Linked DNA regions of Homo sapiens: all the other regions are linked to region 4. The links are contacts of gene promoters, found by promoter capture Hi-C in human tissues and cell types (Jung and others, 2019). All regions are on one chromosome and are shown on one strand. The core of a region is centred on a gene start or on the middle of the fragment in contact, and the rest is flanking DNA. Distances in the headings are between cores, read along the strand shown.

Region 1 (3,236 bases), core at 698-3,197, 200 kb after region 4:
TAGGAGTTTGGGGGATCCAAGATGGAACACAGTGTCTGACAAAAGAATCCAGGTGTTTTACAAATGTATTAGACAAGCTTACGAATAATGTTGGGGAGAAAAGATAATGACTTAAGTAACTTTGAAAATGAGTGGAATCTGTTAAGACTAGAGGCAAAGTGACTGTACAGGAGCACTGCACACTATTTGATAAAGTTGTTTTCTGTAGGTGTATGAGTTAGCAATTCTAAATCATGATACATATGTATATTGGAATTGAACAATTAAGTAAATGGTTGGCAGATGGTGTACATTTTCTTATTGTTGGAATGAAAAGTTACAGACAAGAAGAAAAGAATGATTTGTGTTGTAATGGATTAGAGTTGGAAACGTCAGTGTAAACTTATGTTTAGTTTAATATGCAGACAGATGGTTACACATAGAAATATAGATGCATGTATTTACATAGTTATTGTACACACCCTGTGTCAACTGAGAATGCTTAGAAGCAATGACACTCTAGTAACAATGGGCACACCTAGAACCCAGCCCTTAGTTTCTAATACCATTCTCCAATAGAACAAATCAGGGATCCTTGTAGAAATGGCTGATTCTAAGACTGGTTAGGAAATGTACAAGATGAGCCTGGAGCATCATATAGTGCCAGAGAGTAAGGAAGTACTAAAACAAGAACCCCACATTGATGAAAGTATATCAAAGGGACTCAGGAACCAACCAAAAGAGCTTCCAGTGGTCAAATCTGGAACAAATTTTTAAAAATAAATAGCATAATATTAGATTACAACCCAAAGTATAAAATATCCATGAATCCATATTGATGTAAATAATCAAATGAATAAATAAACTGGGGAGAACATAGATTTTTTGTGCAGAATAATTTCATATAGTTTTTATAGATACTTTTGCCCTTAAGGAGGTTGAACTCCTTACTCGTCAAGTGTGGGAAGAAAGTCATTAGGCACATTGGTGACTTTCTTTCAAAGAGTACAGGGTGGAAATGGGGGATGGAAGGGAAGAGTAACTGTGCAGGGGAGAAACCTGACAAGCACTATCTCTACATGGTAATCAAGGTTAACATCAGTAGTGATAAATCATGCTGATAGTATATACCTTTGATATGACGTGATAAAAATTGCACTTTACCTCTACAGTCTTCCTCCCAAAAACCCATAAGATCAGTATCATTATGAGAAAAATCATCAAACAAATCCCACATGAGATATACTCTACAAAATACTTGACTAGTTTTGCTCAAAACTGTGAAGGTCCTCAAAAAGGAAAGCTTGAGAAAGTGTGACAGTCAAGAAGAGCCTAAATAGACAAGACAACTAAATGGAATATGGCATCCTATATGGGATCCTAGAAGAGTAATAGTACATTATGTAAAACTATGGAAATCTGAATAAAGTGGGCTTTAGTTAATAATAATCTATCAATATTGGTTCGTTGAGTGTGACAAATGTGCCATATTAATACAAGATGTTAACAGGAGGGGAAACTGGGTATAGGGTATTTGGGAACTCTGTTTCAGCTTCACTTTTTAAAAAATCTTCAAATGTTTACTTCAAAAATGAATTCAAAATCACTCAATGTAAATCACTATGGTAACATAAGAGAGAAGAAAAGTTATATGATCATCTCAAAAGAGAAAAAGCATTTGATAAAATATAAAAACTATTCTTTATAAATCTCTTTATTGGAACTACGAATTTATGGGAACTAAAAATTGAAAAAAATTTAATGAGATAAAGGGTATTTACAAAATAAATTAATTGTAAAATTATTGACAGTGGAGATAGAGAAAGCTTTTTTATGAGATTGGGAATAAAAGAGGATTTTTTTTCATCATTTCTATTCATTACTATACTGGATGTCCTAACTAGGGGAGTAGAGTCATAGAATAAGGATTGGAAATGGAAAGGTATAAGTTTCATTATTTACTGACAAGAAACAAGTCTGAACATGATCAATTAAAATTAGGAAGTTAATTGAGCAAGATTGCTGGGTTAAAAAGCAGATAACTAAAATGTATTTCTATGTAAAATGACAAATGAAAAATGAAGTTTTTAAAAGATAACATTTTTGGGAACATCAGAAACATCAATTCCATAGGAAAAAATTCACACAAAATATTATGAAACATTATGGAAAGGAAGCAAGTAATACCTTACAAATGGAGGGATATAATATATTCACAGTGGCAAATTCAATTACATATACTATACATGTTAATTCTCCCCCAAATTCACTTAAAGATCCCAACGTAAGAGCATTCTAAATCTGAATGCCATTTATTAAATGTTCAATCTAATTTCAAGAATTATATATGACACAAAAAGTCAAGAAGAGCCAAGATAGTCTTGATGAAGATGACAATTTTGCATGAGTTACATGGCCAAAATTTAAGGCCTACTATTGCAAGGTTACAGTTACTGACAAAAGACAGAAAACTAGCCTAATGGAGCAAAATAGAGACTCCACTCCACAAGCAGATCAATAGATATATGATTACTTGCTTTATGATAAAAGTGCCACTCCTGCATGATGAGGAAAGAATGGTTTGTTCAATAGTTAGTGCTGGATATCAATACATAAAAAAGTGAATTCCTTTTCAAACCATACAGATCCATCATTTCTAGGTGTAATGTTGGTCTATTCATGAAAGGCAAAACAGTAAAGCTTCTTGAGCATAGCATAACATAGGAGGGTGTCATCATAATTTGGCAGAAAGTGAAAAATACCAATAACACTAAGCATAAAGGAAAATATTGATGAATTAGTCTGCATCCAAATTAAAATTTTTATTTCTCAAAGTATATAATCAGTGAAGAAGCATCGTATAAAAGATACAACTTGTACATGTCAAAAAGTTAGAAAACACTTAAATGGGTACTTCACAAAAGAGGATATCTGAATGGCCAATAAGCCTATGAAAAGGTATTCAAGGTCATTAGCCATGAGAAAAATAATTCAGACAACAATCAGATAAACATCTTCCAGTATATCTAGACAGTCCCCAATTTATAATGGTTTGATTTATGATTTTTCCACTTTATGATGTTGTGAAAGTGGTATGCATTCAGTAGAAACCATACCTTGGATTTTGAATTTTCATTTCCCGGGCTAGCCACTGGCAGTATGATACTCTAGTGAGGCTAGGCAGCAGCAGTGAGCCATAGCTCCTAGCAGTCATGCAGTTATGAAGGTAAACAACCAATACTTCATCGCGTACTGTG
Region 2 (3,184 bases), core at 382-2,881, 150 kb after region 4:
ACTCCAATGACAGTGAGACTCTGGCTATGCCAGGCAGCCATGGGCTGGTCATTGTGCTGCTGGTCTCCATGATTGAATAGTGTGGGTCATTGGTGACAGATAGCTATGTGCTCAGTGTCTGCCACATATCTCAGGTTCAAAGTCCCTTTTATAAATGTGCCTGGATGGATGACGACTTAAAAATGAATCTCGTTGGAATCTGAGCAAAACGAGTGAGCAAACCACTTCTGTGCAGTTCTGTGAACTGAGGTCAAGCACAGGGACCATGCCAGGCAAACACGTGCAGAGAGTTCAGTTTGGTCAGCAACTGGTACCAAAATGGCCTGTGGTATTGGAAAACAAACCCACTCACATAGCTTACAGCACATGAATTGTACAGAGGTCTGTATGTGTTTGTATATATTTATATATGTTTGTGTACATATATCTTTGGGGATTATATGGCATTTCTTTCAGTGTTTGGCTGGCAGTGTCCATACTCTCATAGTAAACAGAATTACACAAGAGTAGAGGGAACAGTAGGAAATGGTTTTGCCTACCCTAGAGTCTTTTATACATGTTTTTAGGTGCTATAATCTTGTGTGTGAGGTCAGTCTCTCAGGTTCATTAGATGGACAGTGTAAAAGGTATTATGAGGTTTTACATATTATTTATCTATTAAGTAAAAGAAATATATGGAAATTGAAGAGTAGCTTTTATCTATTAAAGAAAAGAATGTATGGAAATTGAAGGGTACTTTCTATTTGTGGAAAGTCTTAACATTTTAATTTCCTTATTGATCTTGTCACAGAAGTTGGAATTTAAGTTTTGCCTGTCACTCAAAGAGAAGCTTTTTAGACATTTGATTAAGGGATTCTAGTAGATGCTATAGTAAACATTTCTAATTGTAAAATGATTAAATTTGCAATTCATAGAGTTTTATGTGGATTTCATTGCCTGATATTCATTATTTTTATTAGTGGGTTTCATAGATGTTTAAAGGGAGATCCTAGTTTTATTGTGTGATACTAAGGGAGGCCTTTTGGTCTTAGAAAACTGACTTTCAGTACTACCCATTTCCAGGGAGTGAGCATAATTTTTATTCTCATACCACATGGGCAAGTGAATATCTATGGTTTATTTCTTATAACTCGTCATTAGTAATTATGAAAGTAAGAAAGTTGACAAATGAAACTCTTTTAATTATGAGGGTTTCATTTGTCGACTTCCTACTTCCTCAGTGTGCTTTGTGTATTGGAGGTAATACTGGAATTGCATGGAATTCCTACTGCTGCTCCAGTAACCTGCTGATTTTGTCACGTGTACCAGATTCGTTGTCTGGCAATGAGAACAATACACTTCAGAGGTAATATTGCAATTTTTAGTAAGTGCATTTTTCCTGGGTTCGTTCTATTATTTTATTTTAGCAAGTAAGATTATAATTGGTTTTTCAAGCAGTCTGTTAATCCAAATGGTGTGAGGCCCTAATAATCTGGTTAGTCATCTGAAGTTTCTGTGTTCTTTGTACAGTATTTTTATACTTCCTCTGTTTTCAAATAACATTAGGATACCCTACTAGCAAAATAATTTAGTATATTTTATATACTTGTGCATAGTAAGCCTGTTGTATATGTACACTATTTGCATGGTTGGCAAATTACATTTGCACTTTTTATTTTTCTATAATTTTTTCCTATTTTCAAAGGTTAATGTGGACCAAAAACTAGATTTCATATAAAAGAGTTTATTCCTTCTACTTGAGGTGTGACATGAAGGAAAGTAATGGAAATAATTCTGCCCTCCCATTCTCAAGGGCCAGGGGGAATTCAAATATTGGTAAGCATTTTGTCTTGAAAGCACCAACATTCTTCTTAGGGGGTCATGACACTCCAATGACAATGAGACCCTGGCTGTGCTTGTCAGTCATGAGACTGGTCACTGGCTGTGATGCTGGTCTTTGTAATTGAATACTGTGGGTTGGCAAGTCCCCAGGTGACAGAAAGATCAGTGTTCAGTGTCTGCCACATATCTCAGGCTTAAGGTCCCTTTTATAAGTGTGCCTGGATCGATGATGACTTAAAAAAATGGAAACCTTGGAAATCTGAACAAAATGAGTGACCAAGACACTTCTGTGAGCTGAGGTCCAGCACAGGGACCATACCAGGCAAACCCGTGGAGGGCGTTCAGTTTGGTCAGGAACTGGTACCAAAACGAACCCACTTGCATATGTTAGAGCAGATGAATTGTACAGAGGCCTATATATCTTCGGGAATTACATGACAATGATTTAAGTGCATGGCTGACAGCCTTCAAACACCTAGTAATCAGGCTTTGGGGTACCAGCGTCAGAGGAGTGAACACTGTAGAAATGGCTGTGCCAGCACTCGAGTCATTCACACTATTTTCGTAGACGCCACAACATTCTTAGTGAGTATCAGCATGTATAGGTATATTATGTAGTCAATTAGAAAGAAATTATCAGTCTTTGCTTGCTATTTATTCTTTCACTAAAAGAAATATGTGAAAATTGAAGAGTGGGTTGTATTCATGGGATTATCTTATTACATGCTGGAATTTGCTTCCTAACTCAGTCTCAAGGATTAGAACAGCATTTGTTTTTCTTTTTCCTGTCACTCAGGGAGCAATTTTCTAAGCATTAGATGATAGATTAAATTAGATGCTTCATTAAACATTTTAATGTGAAATAATGAAATTTCTAATTCTAGGGATTTTAGATGGATATTGTTGGCTAATAGGAATATTCCTTCATTGAGTCTTTGTATATTTTAAGAGAGATTCTAATTTTAGTAATACTCGGGGCCTTTGGCCTTCGAGACCAAAATCTTGGAAACATTGATTTTCTGTACTTACCCTGTTCCAAGCAACAAGCAGATTTTTTAGTTATGTGGATAGTCAAGTGACTATGGCTAATTAATTACAAACTGTTGTCAGGAATCATTCAGTTGGGAAGGTTTTGTTTCAAAACTCCTGTAATGTCCCCTGTGCCTTGCAGAACGGAAGTGATTTTGGAATTGCATGGAATTCTCACTGCCATCCCAAAGAAATGCTGATCTTGTCACTCTTACCTGTTTCATTCCCTGGGGGCAGAACAAAAGGACGCACTCCAAAGGTAACATCCAAGTTTGAATAAATTTACTTTTTATGGCTTATTTTGTAATTTTTTCTGTAGTCAAGTAGATAATCA
Region 3 (3,171 bases), core at 100-2,599, 190 kb before region 4:
GTTTTGTTTTTAGCTTCTACAAATAAGAACATAGGAAGTTTGCCTTTCTGTGCCTGGCTTATTCCACTTAACATAACTATCTTTAGCTCCATCCATGCTGTTGCAAATAATGGGATCTCATTATTTTTTATAGCTGAATAGTAGTCCATTGTGTATATGTACCACATTTTCTTTTTCCATTCATCTATTGATGGACACTTAGGTTCTGTGGTATTGTTAAAGAAAACAAAACCAGACACTAAAGTGATAAGGACAGATTTTAATTCGTAATGACTATTGTAATAGCGGGGAGGATCCAGAGTAAACTGAACTCAACTTTGAATTGCACAATGGAAAGTGGGCTTTTTAAAGGAAGAATGAGGGAGTGGGGTAGGGGAGAGGGATGAGCAGGGCCTTACTAGAGTTGAAACTGCCTTTGCAAATATTATGTCAGTGAGAAAAAATGTAACAGTAAACTAAACTAACCCACCCCCTTTCTTGCCTTTCCCTTAATTATTTCTGGGCTGTTGGGCTGAGCTAACTTTGTAAGAAATTTAGGCTACAGTGTAAAAGATAATAGGCCTTCCCTAAAACTCAACTGCTTTTGTAAAGCTAATGGGAGGCTTATCAGGATGTGGGGAGGAGAGGCGCCTGGGTCCTGCTAAGGTGCAGACATTATCCGTAGGTTATAAGACATGCAACTTCCCCAATTACTCCTGCAAATAACACCACTATTGTAGATTGGCCTTTTGAGATATCTTTCCAGGTTTTTTACAAGTCTGACACCTATGGCTCCACCTAAACCTGACGGTTCCACCTGGACTGCCAGTCCCACCCACGCCTAAGGCCCCACCAGAAGCGATTTGGCCCTCAGGAGAACAGCCTCGACCCCCACTATGATTTCATCTCCACCCCAACTAATCAGCAGCAAGCACATGTTACCTGACCACCCCCACCTCTTCCCCCAAATTGCTTTTAAAAAACCCTAATCTATGCAATTCAGGTGAGATGATTTGGGTATAAACCCTATCTCCCATGTGGTGTGGCCAGCCCTGTGTCTATTAAACTCTTTCTCTACTATAATGCCTTGGTCCGTCTTTATTCACCGGGCAACAAGAACCCTTCAGGTGGTTACAGAGTCAGGAAAGTGAAAAACCACAAAGGCTGGTTAAGCGTAACTGTGCTTAGGCCAGCTGTGTCTGCTAGCTGGCAGTTATTGAGGTTAGGATTCTATCTTTCCACAGAGAATAGGAGACAGAAGCCCTATCCTTCCCAGTGATAACATTTCAAAGCAATGACTTTCAGGTCTTTGAGAAAGGCTCTCTTGAGTTGAAAGGGAAACATATGTATCTCAAAGGGACAGAGGAAGGATTCAAAATGGTAAGCTTTTTAATAATTGTTCTAAGAAAGTGTGGCCAGGGGCCTATTCTCAGGTGTTGGCTGGAACAAAAAGTAAATTTTTTTGGCAGCCTTGACTCATACTGCGGTTAACGACCTTGCGCTAGTAGAAACTGTTTTAGTGTTTGGCTAAGTCTTTTAATGTGGTAGGAGAGGGGTTGAATGAAATAATTTATACGGGGAGTCTGCAGTTCTTATTTGTAGGTCACAGTTAAAGTCTAGTCCAGAAGAGGGCTCAGAAGAGCCTAGCTAGAGTTTGACCAAGAAGTGAAACTCTGTCACTATCAAAGATTATATTGGATCCCAAAATTCATACAGAATCTCAATGGACTCTGAATACTCAAAGTAATCTTTAAAAAGAACAATATTGAAGGTCTCATACTTCTTGATTTCAAAACTTATTACAAAGCTACAGAAATCAAAACGGTGAGGTGCTGGCATAAAGACAGATATATAGACTAATAGAACAGAGAGCCCAGAAATAAGCCTTCACATATGTAGTCAAAGGATTTTTTGTAAAGATGTCAAGGCCATTCAACTGAGGAAAGATCGTTTTTTCAACAAATGATGTAGGGAAAATTGGGTATCCCCACACAAAAGAATGAATTTGGAGCCTTACCTTATACTGTATATTTTAAAAATTCAAAATGGATCGAAACCTAAATATAAGAGCTAAAAGTCTAAAACTCTTTGAAGAAAACATAGGTGAAAAGTTTATTACTATCAGACTTAGCAGTGATTTACTGGATATGCCACCAAAAGCATAGGAAACAAAAGTAAAAATTTATAAATTGAAATGTATCAAAATTAAAACCTTCTGTGTATCAGAGAACACAATCCATACACTAAAAAGGCAGTATACAGAATGGGAGAAAATATTTGCAAATCCTATATCTGATAAGGAGTTCATATTCAGAACATGTAAACGACTACAACTCAACATTAAAAAAACTGATTTTAAAAAATGGGTAAAGGACTTGAATAGACATTTCTCCAAAGAAGATACATACATGGCCAATAAGCACATGGAAGGATGCTGAATATCATGGTTATCAGGGAAATGCAAATCAAATGCACAATGAGATATCACCTCAAACCAATTTGGATGATTACTATACAAAAAAAAACTGTGAAATCCAGAAAACAAAAAATGTTGGTGAGGATGTGGAGAAATTGGAATCCCTGTACACTGTTGGTGGGGAGACAAAATGGTATACCCTCTAGAGAAAGCCATTTGGTAGTTCCTCAACAAGTTAAAAATTGTATTACCATATAATCCAGAAATTTAATTTCTGGGCATGTACCTGAAAGAATTGAAAGCAGAGTCTTGAAGAGATATTTGTGCACTCATGTTTATAGCAGCATTATTCACATTAGCCAAAACATGGAAGCAATTCATGTATCCACTGACAGATGAATAGATGAACAAAATGTGGTACAGGTTAAGTATCCTGTATCCAAAATGCCTGGGACTAGGAATATTTTAGATTTTGGATTTTGGAATATTTGCATCACATGTAGAGGATGAACATCCCTAATCCCTAAATATCCAAAATTCAAAATGCTCCAATGGGCATTTTCTTAGAGCATCATGCTGGCACTCAAAAAGTATCAAATTTTTGAGCATTTCAAATTTTGCTTTTTTGGATTAGGGATACTTAACCTGTCTACATACAATGGACTACTATTCAGGCATACAAGGAAGGACATTCTGATAGATAATGCTCAATGAATAAACCTCGAGGATATTATGGTAAGTGAATTAAACCAGTCACAAAAAGACAAATTCTGTAT
Region 4 (3,187 bases), core at 47-2,546:
CAATGAACTATTAGAAATTGCAATGTTTTTGTAGGTCAAAACAATTCAATATTGACAATTTTATATGATTCAGCCTAATACATCATTTTTTCCATCAGCCATATTGCATGTTATTATTTATATATACGTTTATTTAGTTAGCCTATCTGTTCTCTGTGAGGAACATTACACAGTTTCTGAGATTTTGTTACGATAGAAGTCAGCATTGATAAGCCTCTGCGCACCTGTTTTAATGTAGGATCATTGGGAACTGAGCAGTAGCTTACAGGGCTTGGGAGGGGATTTAACCATTTAGTCAACCTCCACTCACATCACCCTCCCTTCTTCGATAATGGGCAATTGAGAAAGGGCAAATGTGTGTAAAAACTATGCAGATGCAGTTTCAGGATTATTTTCTTCTTTTCTGCAGTGTCTTTTCCCAAGCTACATCAGCGTCTAAATTTTGGAGTTACTGATGCTTCCGTTATTTCTGCAGATAGAATATTATGTCGTAAATAATGTTTACTTGTCCATTAGTATTATATAAAAGTGCCTGTTTCTCCCCACTCCAGCTATCATTGATTATTGGTAAAAATTTTAATGTATCCAATTCTAATAGGCAAAGAAAGGCTCTCCTACTTAGATCTTAGGTGGGGGTCTAAGTTCATATTTTTGTTTTACAAAAATTGAATAGCCAGTGTTTTTGAGTTGAATGATCTATCCATTCCGTATAGGAGAGTTTAATTATATTGTGATTTTGGGGGAGATAATTTTCACAATTTACCCCCTCAAAATGTAGAAAGTAGAAAAAGGGTAGAAAAATCGCACCAAATTTGAACAATGTAGCATGCTTTTAGAGTTAGGGATATTTTCTTTTGGAAGGATTTCAAGTCTGGCGTATTTGCATTGATTGTGGTTATGGCGCATTTAACTTTTCCAAACCAGCTTTTTTGTACCGCACATAGGAAGACCTGAGGGTGAGTGTAAATTAGGATTGTTTGGCCAGTGGTGTGTGCAAAAATTTATTGTAGAACCAAGAATTATTTCTTTAGTATTTTACACATTTTAAAAAACAGGTAGACATGTCCATTGATCCCAGGTTGCTTATGGTTTCTAGAGGCCCCCTCTCATTGCAACAGTGCTGTGGGGCCCTAGGGGTCCAGTAGCCCCCTCCCCCCAGGTCATTCCGGTGAGGGAGGGAGCTGGGACCCCTGCACTGCGGCAAACAAGCACGCCTGCGCGGCCGCAGAGGCAGGCTGGCGCGCATGCTCAGGCGGGGATGTGTGCGAAGCCTGCCGCTGCTGCAGCGAGTCTGGCGCAGAGTGGAGCGGCCGCCGGAGATGCCTGACGCATCTGTCTGAGGAGCGGTCAGTGACGCGATGGAGCGGGCAAGGTCAGCTGTGCCGGTGGCTTCTCTCAAGAGACAGCCTGGGGAGCGGCCACTTTTATTCATCAGATATTCCAAGTTTTTAGGACTTGGAGTACTGAATAAACGGAATTTGGGCCCTAAAGTCCTTTGTTCTGGAGAACCAGATCCGGAATGTTCAGAGGCTTGCTGTTGTGCCGTTCTGCCCCGATGGTATCCTGTCCGCTCGCATTGGGGCGCGTCCCCCATCCGCCCCCAACTGTGGTGTCGCGACAGGTCCTATTGCGGGTGTCTGCGGTGGGAAGGGCGGTGGTGACTGGGAGCATGCGGGGTAACCGCAGTGGGCAAGGGACATGGGTGGAGGTGGGTACATCAGGGTGATTGCAGTTCCGTGTGGCGAGGGTACGTGGGGGGACCAGTGCATAGGGATTTTAGGCGGAGGTAGGTATATTGGAGTGATTGTGGCGGGGCGAAGGTACGTGAAGTGATCGGTATTTAGGGGGTGTTGAGCGCAGGTAGGTGTATAATAGTGACCACTGCGTGGTGGAGCAGGGTACGTGGGGCGACTGGGGGGGGAATTCGTCGCAGTGACCGAGGCGAGGAGGCTATGGCAGTGGACCAGGGGGATGAGTCGGTGTGACAGTGGTGGGGGTTGTGTTGGTGGTCGCGGCGCGGGGAGAGTCCGTAGGAAGTGGCTGGGAGGTAGGGGGAAGGCGGCGACAGTGGGTATTGGCGGCGGTGGGCATTGGCAGCGGGTAGGCATGGCGGTGGTGGACTTTGGCGGCGGTAGGCATGGCGGCGGTGGGCATGGCATGGAGGCGGTGGGCATGGCGGCCGCGGGGCCTGTCGCTGTCCGGAGTGACTAAGGGACGCTGAATGATTGCTGTGTAGAGGAGGGGGCATCAGAAGGGGCAGTAGCACAGTCCGCAGCCTTTAATTTTCCTGTGACCTGCGATGGTCATCTGGTTTGCCTACTGTGGTGGTGGTGCTTTTTTATTAAAACTGCGCAATGCCTACACTGCCGCAGGGGCTGCAGAAATGCGTGGAATCCTTGCGTACCCTTTAGGAACCCTCGCTTTAGAGGCTATGGCATAAGAAGACTGGAATGATGTGCAGAACTTGCATTTACAGATCTTTTGACTGATAGGCCAGGTGATGCCTGGGGGTTACTTTTTTTTCATTGTTTCTCTCTGTTGGGAACCAGGTCTTGGAAGGCTATGTCGAAATAACCTGGGGGTCTGTGTTGCGTCACTGCCATTGTGCAGCTCCTTCAAGATGGCCGCCGCTGCAGCGGCTTAGATCTGCGCAAGCGCTTCAGCGGGGGGGTGGCCGCTTCCTCCCTGTAGAGCCGCCAGTGGGGAGGGGGCAGGTGGTGTGTGTTCAGCTTCTGCTGTTTCGGAGTTTCAGCCGTACCCTCTTTAGGGTGCAGTGGTAAGGAGAGGAAGCCGGCCAAGGTGGGCGGCTGCCCCCTCCCCAAAGTGCTGCTTGGGAAAGGATGCAGGTTGCGCAGACGCAGCAGAGGTGACAGTCGCCTCCGCTTGCAGTGGGGCGAGACGTGGGGCAGGGGAGCGAGGGCTTACGCAGCTTTTGCCTGGAAGGAATGGCAGCCCTCCCCTTCACCTGGCTGATACAGCAGCTGTTCCTTTCCGGTTGTGGCGCAGTAGAGGGGGGAGGAGGGAGATGGGTTGGCGCAGGCTCCGCCTAGCAAGCTTGGCAGCCACCCCTTACCCACGGTGCAGCAGTAGAGGACTGGAGGGGAATGTGGCTAGAGGCCAGGCATTTGTACCACCTCCGCCTGTGTGGGATGGCAGCTGCACTGGGCTACTGCTTTTCAGCTCTGCA
Region 5 (3,318 bases), core at 280-2,779, 150 kb before region 4:
ACATTTTTCAAAGGGTTGTGTTTTAATATGGGTATTGTAAGAAAATGACTGGCCAGACAGCATGATACGGTTGCCATCTTGTGCACAGGCATGAAGTTGGTCTAGAAACCTATTATTGTCACCCTCTGATAATATCATTATCATCAAAACTTTTAGAGTAGCTGTCAGTAGGTTACAAATATAATCTCACAGAGGATAATACAGAACTCTCTAAAGATATGAGGCAAAGCCAAAGCTTATGATAAGCACAGGTGATGATAATTTGAGGAAAGTCATGAAAACGGTGAGTTGAGAAGTGATTCAGAAGAGTTTGATCTCATGAGAGCTATTTTAGGATTATCTCTGTTAATGTATCCTGTTTTAATTTTTCATCTCATGTACTCATAGGAGTGATATAAGATAAATAACATGTTGAATTCACTTCCTGTGTATATATTCCCAGAAGTGGAATAGCTGGATAATATGGTAGTTCTATTTTTAGTTTTTTGAAACCTTCATTTTTTTTTCCACAATGGCTGTACTAATTTGCATTCCCACCCACAGGGATTCCCTTTTCCACATTTATTTAAGTTCAATAAAATTGTAATCAATAATAATATAAAAATTCTAAGTGATAATAAATATTTGTGTCACAGTTTTTCAGTGGTTTTATTTTTTGTGGCAAAAAAATAATGGTGCATTTTACCAATGATGCATCTTGTAATTACTTAGGAAAAGCTGTCAGTATTAGCAAATTCTAATTTAGTTGTTAGTATAGACCTGCATTAGTCTATGTGCTCTATGTATTACTAGTTCCTTTAAACCTCACAACATCCCAAGAGGTAGGCAATATTATCACTTCCATGCTCCAGTTCTGAATCTTAGCTAAAGCACTTCAGTAAAAAATAGGAGATGCTGGAGCTTGACTGGGTCTGTCTCCAGAGTCCTTGCTCACATTAGCTATGTTACGATATATTTTGTGATAAGAACCTTCTAGATCTAGTTTCAGAAATCTTATATACCCCATGGTCATGAAGCTATTCTCCTAAATTAGGTCCTAAATACCGTACTAATTTTTTTTAAAAAAATATCTAGGTCCGGCCAGGCACGTTGGCTCACGCCTATAATCCCAGCACTTTGGGAGGCCAAGGTAGGCAGATCATAAGGTCAGGAGTTCGAGACCAGCCTGACCAACATGGTGAAACCCATCTCTACTAAAAATAAAAAAATTAGGCATGGTGGCGTGCACCTGTAATTCCAGATACTCAGGAGGCTGAGGCAGGAGAATCATTTGATCCTGGGAGGCAGAGGTTGCAGTGAGCTGAGATTGTACCACTGCATGCCAGCTTGGGTGACAGAGCGAGGCTCTGTCACAAAATATATATATATCTAGGTCAGTGATCCATCTGGAATTGATTAATTTTGAAATGTGAGATCAAATGTCTATTTTATTTTCTCCTACGGATATTTAATTTTTTGGAACATATATTGAAAAATCAATATTCCCTATTTATCTTTCTTTACACTATTTTTCTTACATATTCTTTTGTCCTTTTTTGAGCTTTCTTTTTTCATTTGTTTATTTCTGTATTTTTCTGCGAATACTAAAGTAACTCAGTTACTGAGAGACTTCATTTTACACAAGAATTTTCCCTCCAGAGTCCATTCTCTTCATCACTGTGCTGTTCTAGAATGAAGAAATGAAAGAGTAGGATCCTGCATTCCTTGCACCCCAACCAAAAATACCAGGTGTACTTTGTTTTGTTTTGTTTTGTTTCAATAGAGTTTAAGACTTCAGAACATGACTGTTGACACTAATGTCTCTAACGTCTTTGTGACTCTCAGACAACCCCAACCAACTTCACTACCACTTTATTTTTCAGTAACAAATCAGTGAATTTTATGTGATTTTGTGCCTTCTCTTCCACCACTCTGGGCTTTCTCTATCCTTAGAAACATTGGCAGGAGCTTGGAGAGTCATCCCTGGGTGCATCCCGCTCATGTGGATGAGCCTCAGTGGACTTGGTCTTACTCCTCTGGACCATGACCCATCAAAGTCCTGGCTGTGGCAGGCAAAGCTGAGCTGAGGGCTCTCTGTGAGGCCTGCATGGGCAAAACCAGCTGCTCCCAACACTCCCTAAGTGATCTGTTTGGGTATTCATTCTGTTTTTAATAAAGAATGAGTTTGTTCAACAATGACTGAGCTTGCTGACCAAGGATAATTACCCTTCAGACCTTGTCTGATAATGTTTGTTCTTGCTTTTGCTTTGGCACACAGTTTTCAACACTTTGTATTAATTTTTATTTGTTTTGGTCACATAACAATTTCTGCAACCAAATTCATATTTTTGTCTTGTGTATTAATTTCATTATTGTATTTAATAATGCACTTATACCCATTTTTCATAAAACCTTTTCAATTATTTTCATCTTTTCAGTCATAAAATTTTCCTAAATAGAATAGGAATATGACTTTTATTGGGAAAAGCAGATGCTACACACCCTTTTTCCGTGTTTTCCAGGAATTTCCACTGAAGTACCTCTGGTTGAAAAGGAGAACAGAGACTTTTTTCACAGCCACAGGACAAAATTTGTTCAGAATTAAATGCTGAAAAAGGAGGTATGATTGTTTTCATTATATGGCTTAGTTTGTTATAATTGTGGAAGATGCACAAGGCATTAGTTTATACAGGCAGAATACTGAATCTTCAATTCTGAATGCAAAGAATAGCCATTTTGTCACTGAGCAAGCATAAATATCATACTGTTACTCTTTATCCAAAAGCTATAGACATGGCTGAAGTCTTTGATTCCTTCTAACTTGTTGTAAATGTATGCATGTAATTTCCTTGTACACATGGACCATAATATAAATATCTATAGTTTTCTTGCAATTCAGTGAGTTACTACTAAAACTGTTTACAGTTTTCAGTAAAATAATAAATGTAACTCAAGAAATCTGTAAATACATCTCCAGGAAGCACAAATTCTTGTAGAAAGGGAATTGCCATCTTTACTTATTTTTTTTTTTTGGTCATCTCCTAGCAAAATATTTTTAAAGGTTTTCATGCTTATGAGTTTTTTAGATTTTTGTTTGCATTGGCTCAGTCAATAATTTTCCCATCCTTCGATTATTTAACTGGTCTGATGTTTATTATTTTAGGCTAAACTTTTGACACTCTTCTGATATAATTTGTATGTGAATAGATTTGCTGAGTGTCCTGGATAGTGAAGATGGGATTCCTTGACATGCATTAAGTAGGAATTTTCCCACCGGTAACCAATAAGAAACACAAAAGTAAGAAGAGGACAGAAACAGTTCAGGACTCTAACAATTAA
Region 6 (3,254 bases), core at 639-3,138, 170 kb before region 4:
CCTCAGCCTCCTGAGTAGGTGGGGCTACAGGTGCATGCCACTAAGCGTAGCTAATTTTTTGAATTTTTTTGTAGAGACAAGGTCTCACCAGGTTGCCCAGGCTTTTCTTGAATTCCTGGCCTCAAGCGATCCTCCTGCCTTAGCCTCCCAAAGTACCAGAACTACAGGTGTGAGCCATCATGCCTGGCCAGAAATAGAATTGATTTTTTTTTTTAGATGGTATCTCACTCTGTCGCTCAGGCTGGAGTGCAATGGCCTGATCTTGGCTCACTGCAACCTCCACCTCCTGGGTTCAAGCGATTCACCTGCCTCAGCCTCCTGAGTAGCTGGGATTACAGGTGCCCACCACTATGCCCAGCTAATTTTTGTATTTTTAGTAGAGACAGGGTTTCACCATGTTGGCCAGGCTGGTCTCAAAACTCCTGACCTCAGGCGATCCACCTGCCTCGGCCTCCCAAAGCGCTGGGATTACAGGCCTGAACCACCTTTGTATACTGCAAAGTTACTGAACTTGTTTTTAGATTCTAATCTTACTTTACTGAATTCCTTAGGATTTTCTATACACAGGATTATGTCATTTGCAAACAAAGATGGTTTAACTTCTTCCTTTCTATTGTGAATGTCTTACATTTTTTGTAGCCTAATTGTCCTGGCTACATCCTCCAATACTCTGTTGAATAGAAGTGGCAAGAGTGGACCTCAGTGTCTTATTTCTAATCCTGGAGAAATTACTGAGGCTTCCATGACATTGTATGTTTCTATGTGAATTTTTAATTGATGCTCTTTATAGGCAAAGTTCCCTTCTATGCTTCATTTGCTCAATGTTTTCATAAATGCTCCAATCATAAATGGGGTTTTAATTAGTCAAATGCTTATTCTTCATCTTAAGTGATCATGTGTTTTTACTCTTTATACTATTTAGATAGTATATTTTACTAATTGTTTTTGTATGTTTATCCAAACTTGCAATGCTGGAATAAATACCCTTGGTCATAGTGTATATCCTTTGTCTACGGTGCTTTTGTGTTTTGATAGTTTTTCCTTGAGGATTCTCGTATTTATAAGGCATGTTGGTCTCTAATTTTCCTTTCTTACAATGTCTTTTTCCAGTTGTAGTATCAGGTTAACTGACTTCATAAAATGCATTGGGAAGTGCTCTCTTTTTCCTTTTTGGTTTTCGTTCCTTTGTTTGTTTTCTTCTTCTCTTGGGAGAGGAGTTAGTGAAGGATTGTTATAAATTCTTTAAAGTTTTGGTATAATTTACTAGTGAAGTAATCTCACCCTGGGCATGTAATTGAATCCTAACAACAATCTGTGAGCTTGGAAGATGATTCCTCCCCAGCTGAACCTTCAGCTGAGACTTCAGCCTAGACATCATCTACACCAGGATTCATGCCCTAAAGAAACAGTGAGTAATATGTGTGTGTGTGGTTTTGAGGCACTTTGCTGTATAAATGAGTTATACAGCAATAAATAAGTAATAAACCTGACAGTTAATGTACTGTGGCATCTGGAATGAATCATTGACAGAAAAAGTGACATTAATGTAAAATCGGGTAAAGTATAAAGACAGTCTGTATTTCAGTTAATGGTTTTTACCACATTCAATTTTATTTGTTTTCACAAATATGTTATGGCTATTTAAGATGTTAAGATTGCAAGAAGCTGAATGGTATACAAAACTCTTTATATTCTCCTTATACCTTTCAGTAATCTAAAATTAATTGTTATTTTTAATTGTCAGATAATAAGTGTATGTACTCTTACTCATGGGGTTAATTGTGGTGTTTTGTTATATGTATACATTGTGGAATGGTCAAATTAGGCTAATCATCATATCCATTACCTCAAATATTTATTATTTCTTTGTGGTGAGAACATTTAAAATCATCTCTTTTAGCTGTTTTGGGAAATATACAACACATTCTTATTATCTATATTCACCATGCTGTGAAATAAATCACCAGACATTATTCCTCCTGTCTAATAGAAACTTCAAACCCTTTGACCAATGTCTCTCCTTCCCCAACCACCCCTTCATAACAACCTGTGGTAACCACCATATGATTCTCCACTTCTATGAGTTTGACTTCTAAGATTCCACATATAATTGAGATCATATGGTAATCGTCCCTCTGTGTCTAGCCTATTTTACCTAGCATAATGTACTGTAGGTTCATCCAAGTTGTTGCAAATGACAGAATTTCCTATATTTTTAAGGCTGAATGGTATCACATTGTGTATATGTACCACATTTTTGTTAATCCATTTATCCATTAATGAGCTCTTAAATTGTTTCCAAATCTTGGCTAATGTAAATAATGCTGAAATGAACATGAGAGTAAAGACATCTCTTCAACATAGTGATTCCAATTTTTTTGGCATATACCCTGGAGAGAGATTGCTATATCATATAGTAATTCTATTTTTAATTTCTTGTGACACTTCCATAGTATTTTCTAAAATATCTGTACTAATTGACATTCCCACCTACAATGTACAAAGTTTGTCTTTTTTCATTTCCTCACCAACATTTGTTATATTTCATCATCCTGACAATAGCCAAAGTAGCAGGTGTGAGCCAATATCTCATTATGATTTTAATTTACACTTCTCTGATGATTACAAATGTTGAAGAATTTTTTCATATGTCTGTTGGACAGTTGTATGTCTTATTTTGAAGTCCTTTGCCCATTTTTTATGTTGTTACTTATACTCTTGTAATTAAGTAGTGCTGAGACCAGCTCGGTCGTGGAGACCATAATCCTGTGGCACTAGAGGAATTAAAGACACACACACAGAAATGTAGGGTGTGGAGTGGGAAATCAGGGGTCTCACAGCCTTCAGAGCTGAGAGCCCCGAACAGAGACTTACCCACATATTTATTGACAGCAAGCCAGTGATAAGCATTGTTTCTATAGATTATAGATTTACTAAAAGTATTCCCCCATGGGAAACAAAGGGATGGGCCAAAAGGAAGGGATGGGTCTGGCTAGTTATCTGCAGCAGGAACATGTCCTTAAGGCACAGATCACTCATGCCATTGTTTGTGATTTAGGAATGCCTTTAAGCGGTTTTCCGCCCTGGGTGGACCAGGTGTTCCTTGCCCTCATCCCGGTAAACCCACAACCTTCAGCGTGGGCATCATGGCCATCACAAACATGTCACAGTGCTGCAGAGATTTTGTTTATGGCCAGTTTTGGGGCCAGTTTATGGCCAGATTTGGGGGTCTGTTCCCAACAAAGTAGTTTGAG

Evidence for each region. The method cuts DNA at HindIII sites, captures the fragments that hold promoters and counts their contacts. A contact is called where the count stands out against the background at its distance.
Region 1: a fragment that was not itself captured here is called in contact with the fragment with the promoter of SNURF in region 4 in 2 of the 25 tissues and cell types used here (aorta and spleen).
Region 2: a contact is called between a fragment that was not itself captured here and the fragment with the promoter of SNURF in region 4, in 1 of the 25 tissues and cell types used here (stomach).
Region 3: a contact is called between a fragment that was not itself captured here and the fragment with the promoter of SNURF in region 4, in 1 of the 25 tissues and cell types used here (dorsolateral prefrontal cortex).
Region 5: a contact is called between a fragment that was not itself captured here and the fragment with the promoter of SNURF in region 4, in 2 of the 25 tissues and cell types used here (H1 embryonic stem cells and spleen).
Region 6: a contact is called between a fragment that was not itself captured here and the fragment with the promoter of SNURF in region 4, in 1 of the 25 tissues and cell types used here (lymphoblastoid cells).

The regions. Positions count from the first base shown.
Region 1 is chr15:25,154,454-25,157,689 of GRCh38, forward strand. The region is part of intron 61 of SNHG14 (small nucleolar RNA host gene 14); the gene reads left to right. Among named protein-coding and RNA genes, the nearest start is that of SNORD115-1, 15 kb to the right of the region's middle. The HindIII fragment of the contact is 4,828 bases long and covers 1-3,236 here.
Region 2 is chr15:25,104,480-25,107,663 of GRCh38, forward strand. SNHG14 (small nucleolar RNA host gene 14) reads left to right here. Exons shown (of 148, transcript NR_146177.1): 52 at 1,685-1,815; 53 at 2,993-3,109. SNORD116-29 (small nucleolar RNA, C/D box 116-29) reads left to right here and starts at 2,041; the gene lies at 2,041-2,125. SNORD116-28 (small nucleolar RNA, C/D box 116-28) reads left to right here and starts at 162; the gene lies at 162-254. The HindIII fragment of the contact is 6,332 bases long and covers 1-3,184 here.
Region 3 is chr15:24,763,453-24,766,623 of GRCh38, forward strand. No RefSeq gene overlaps it. Among named protein-coding and RNA genes, the nearest start is that of SNHG14, 59 kb to the right of the region's middle. The HindIII fragment of the contact is 3,064 bases long and covers 1-2,881 here.
Region 4 is chr15:24,953,691-24,956,877 of GRCh38, forward strand. SNURF (SNRPN upstream open reading frame) reads left to right here and starts at 1,297. Exons shown (of 3, transcript NM_001394334.1): 1 at 1,297-1,372. The coding sequence starts at 1,359. It overlaps SNRPN (small nuclear ribonucleoprotein polypeptide N), which reads left to right and starts at 1,297. Exons shown (of 10, transcript NM_003097.6): 1 at 1,297-1,372. The region is part of intron 4 of SNHG14 (small nucleolar RNA host gene 14); the gene reads left to right. RefSeq lists enhancers at 1,712-2,277, 2,278-2,843, 2,668-2,827, 2,844-3,187, 3,098-3,147. The HindIII fragment of the contact is 13,657 bases long and covers 1-3,187 here.
Region 5 is chr15:24,805,323-24,808,640 of GRCh38, forward strand. No RefSeq gene overlaps it. Among named protein-coding and RNA genes, the nearest start is that of SNHG14, 17 kb to the right of the region's middle. The HindIII fragment of the contact is 8,494 bases long and covers 1-3,318 here.
Region 6 is chr15:24,780,371-24,783,624 of GRCh38, forward strand. No RefSeq gene overlaps it. Among named protein-coding and RNA genes, the nearest start is that of SNHG14, 42 kb to the right of the region's middle. The HindIII fragment of the contact is 6,461 bases long and covers 1-3,254 here.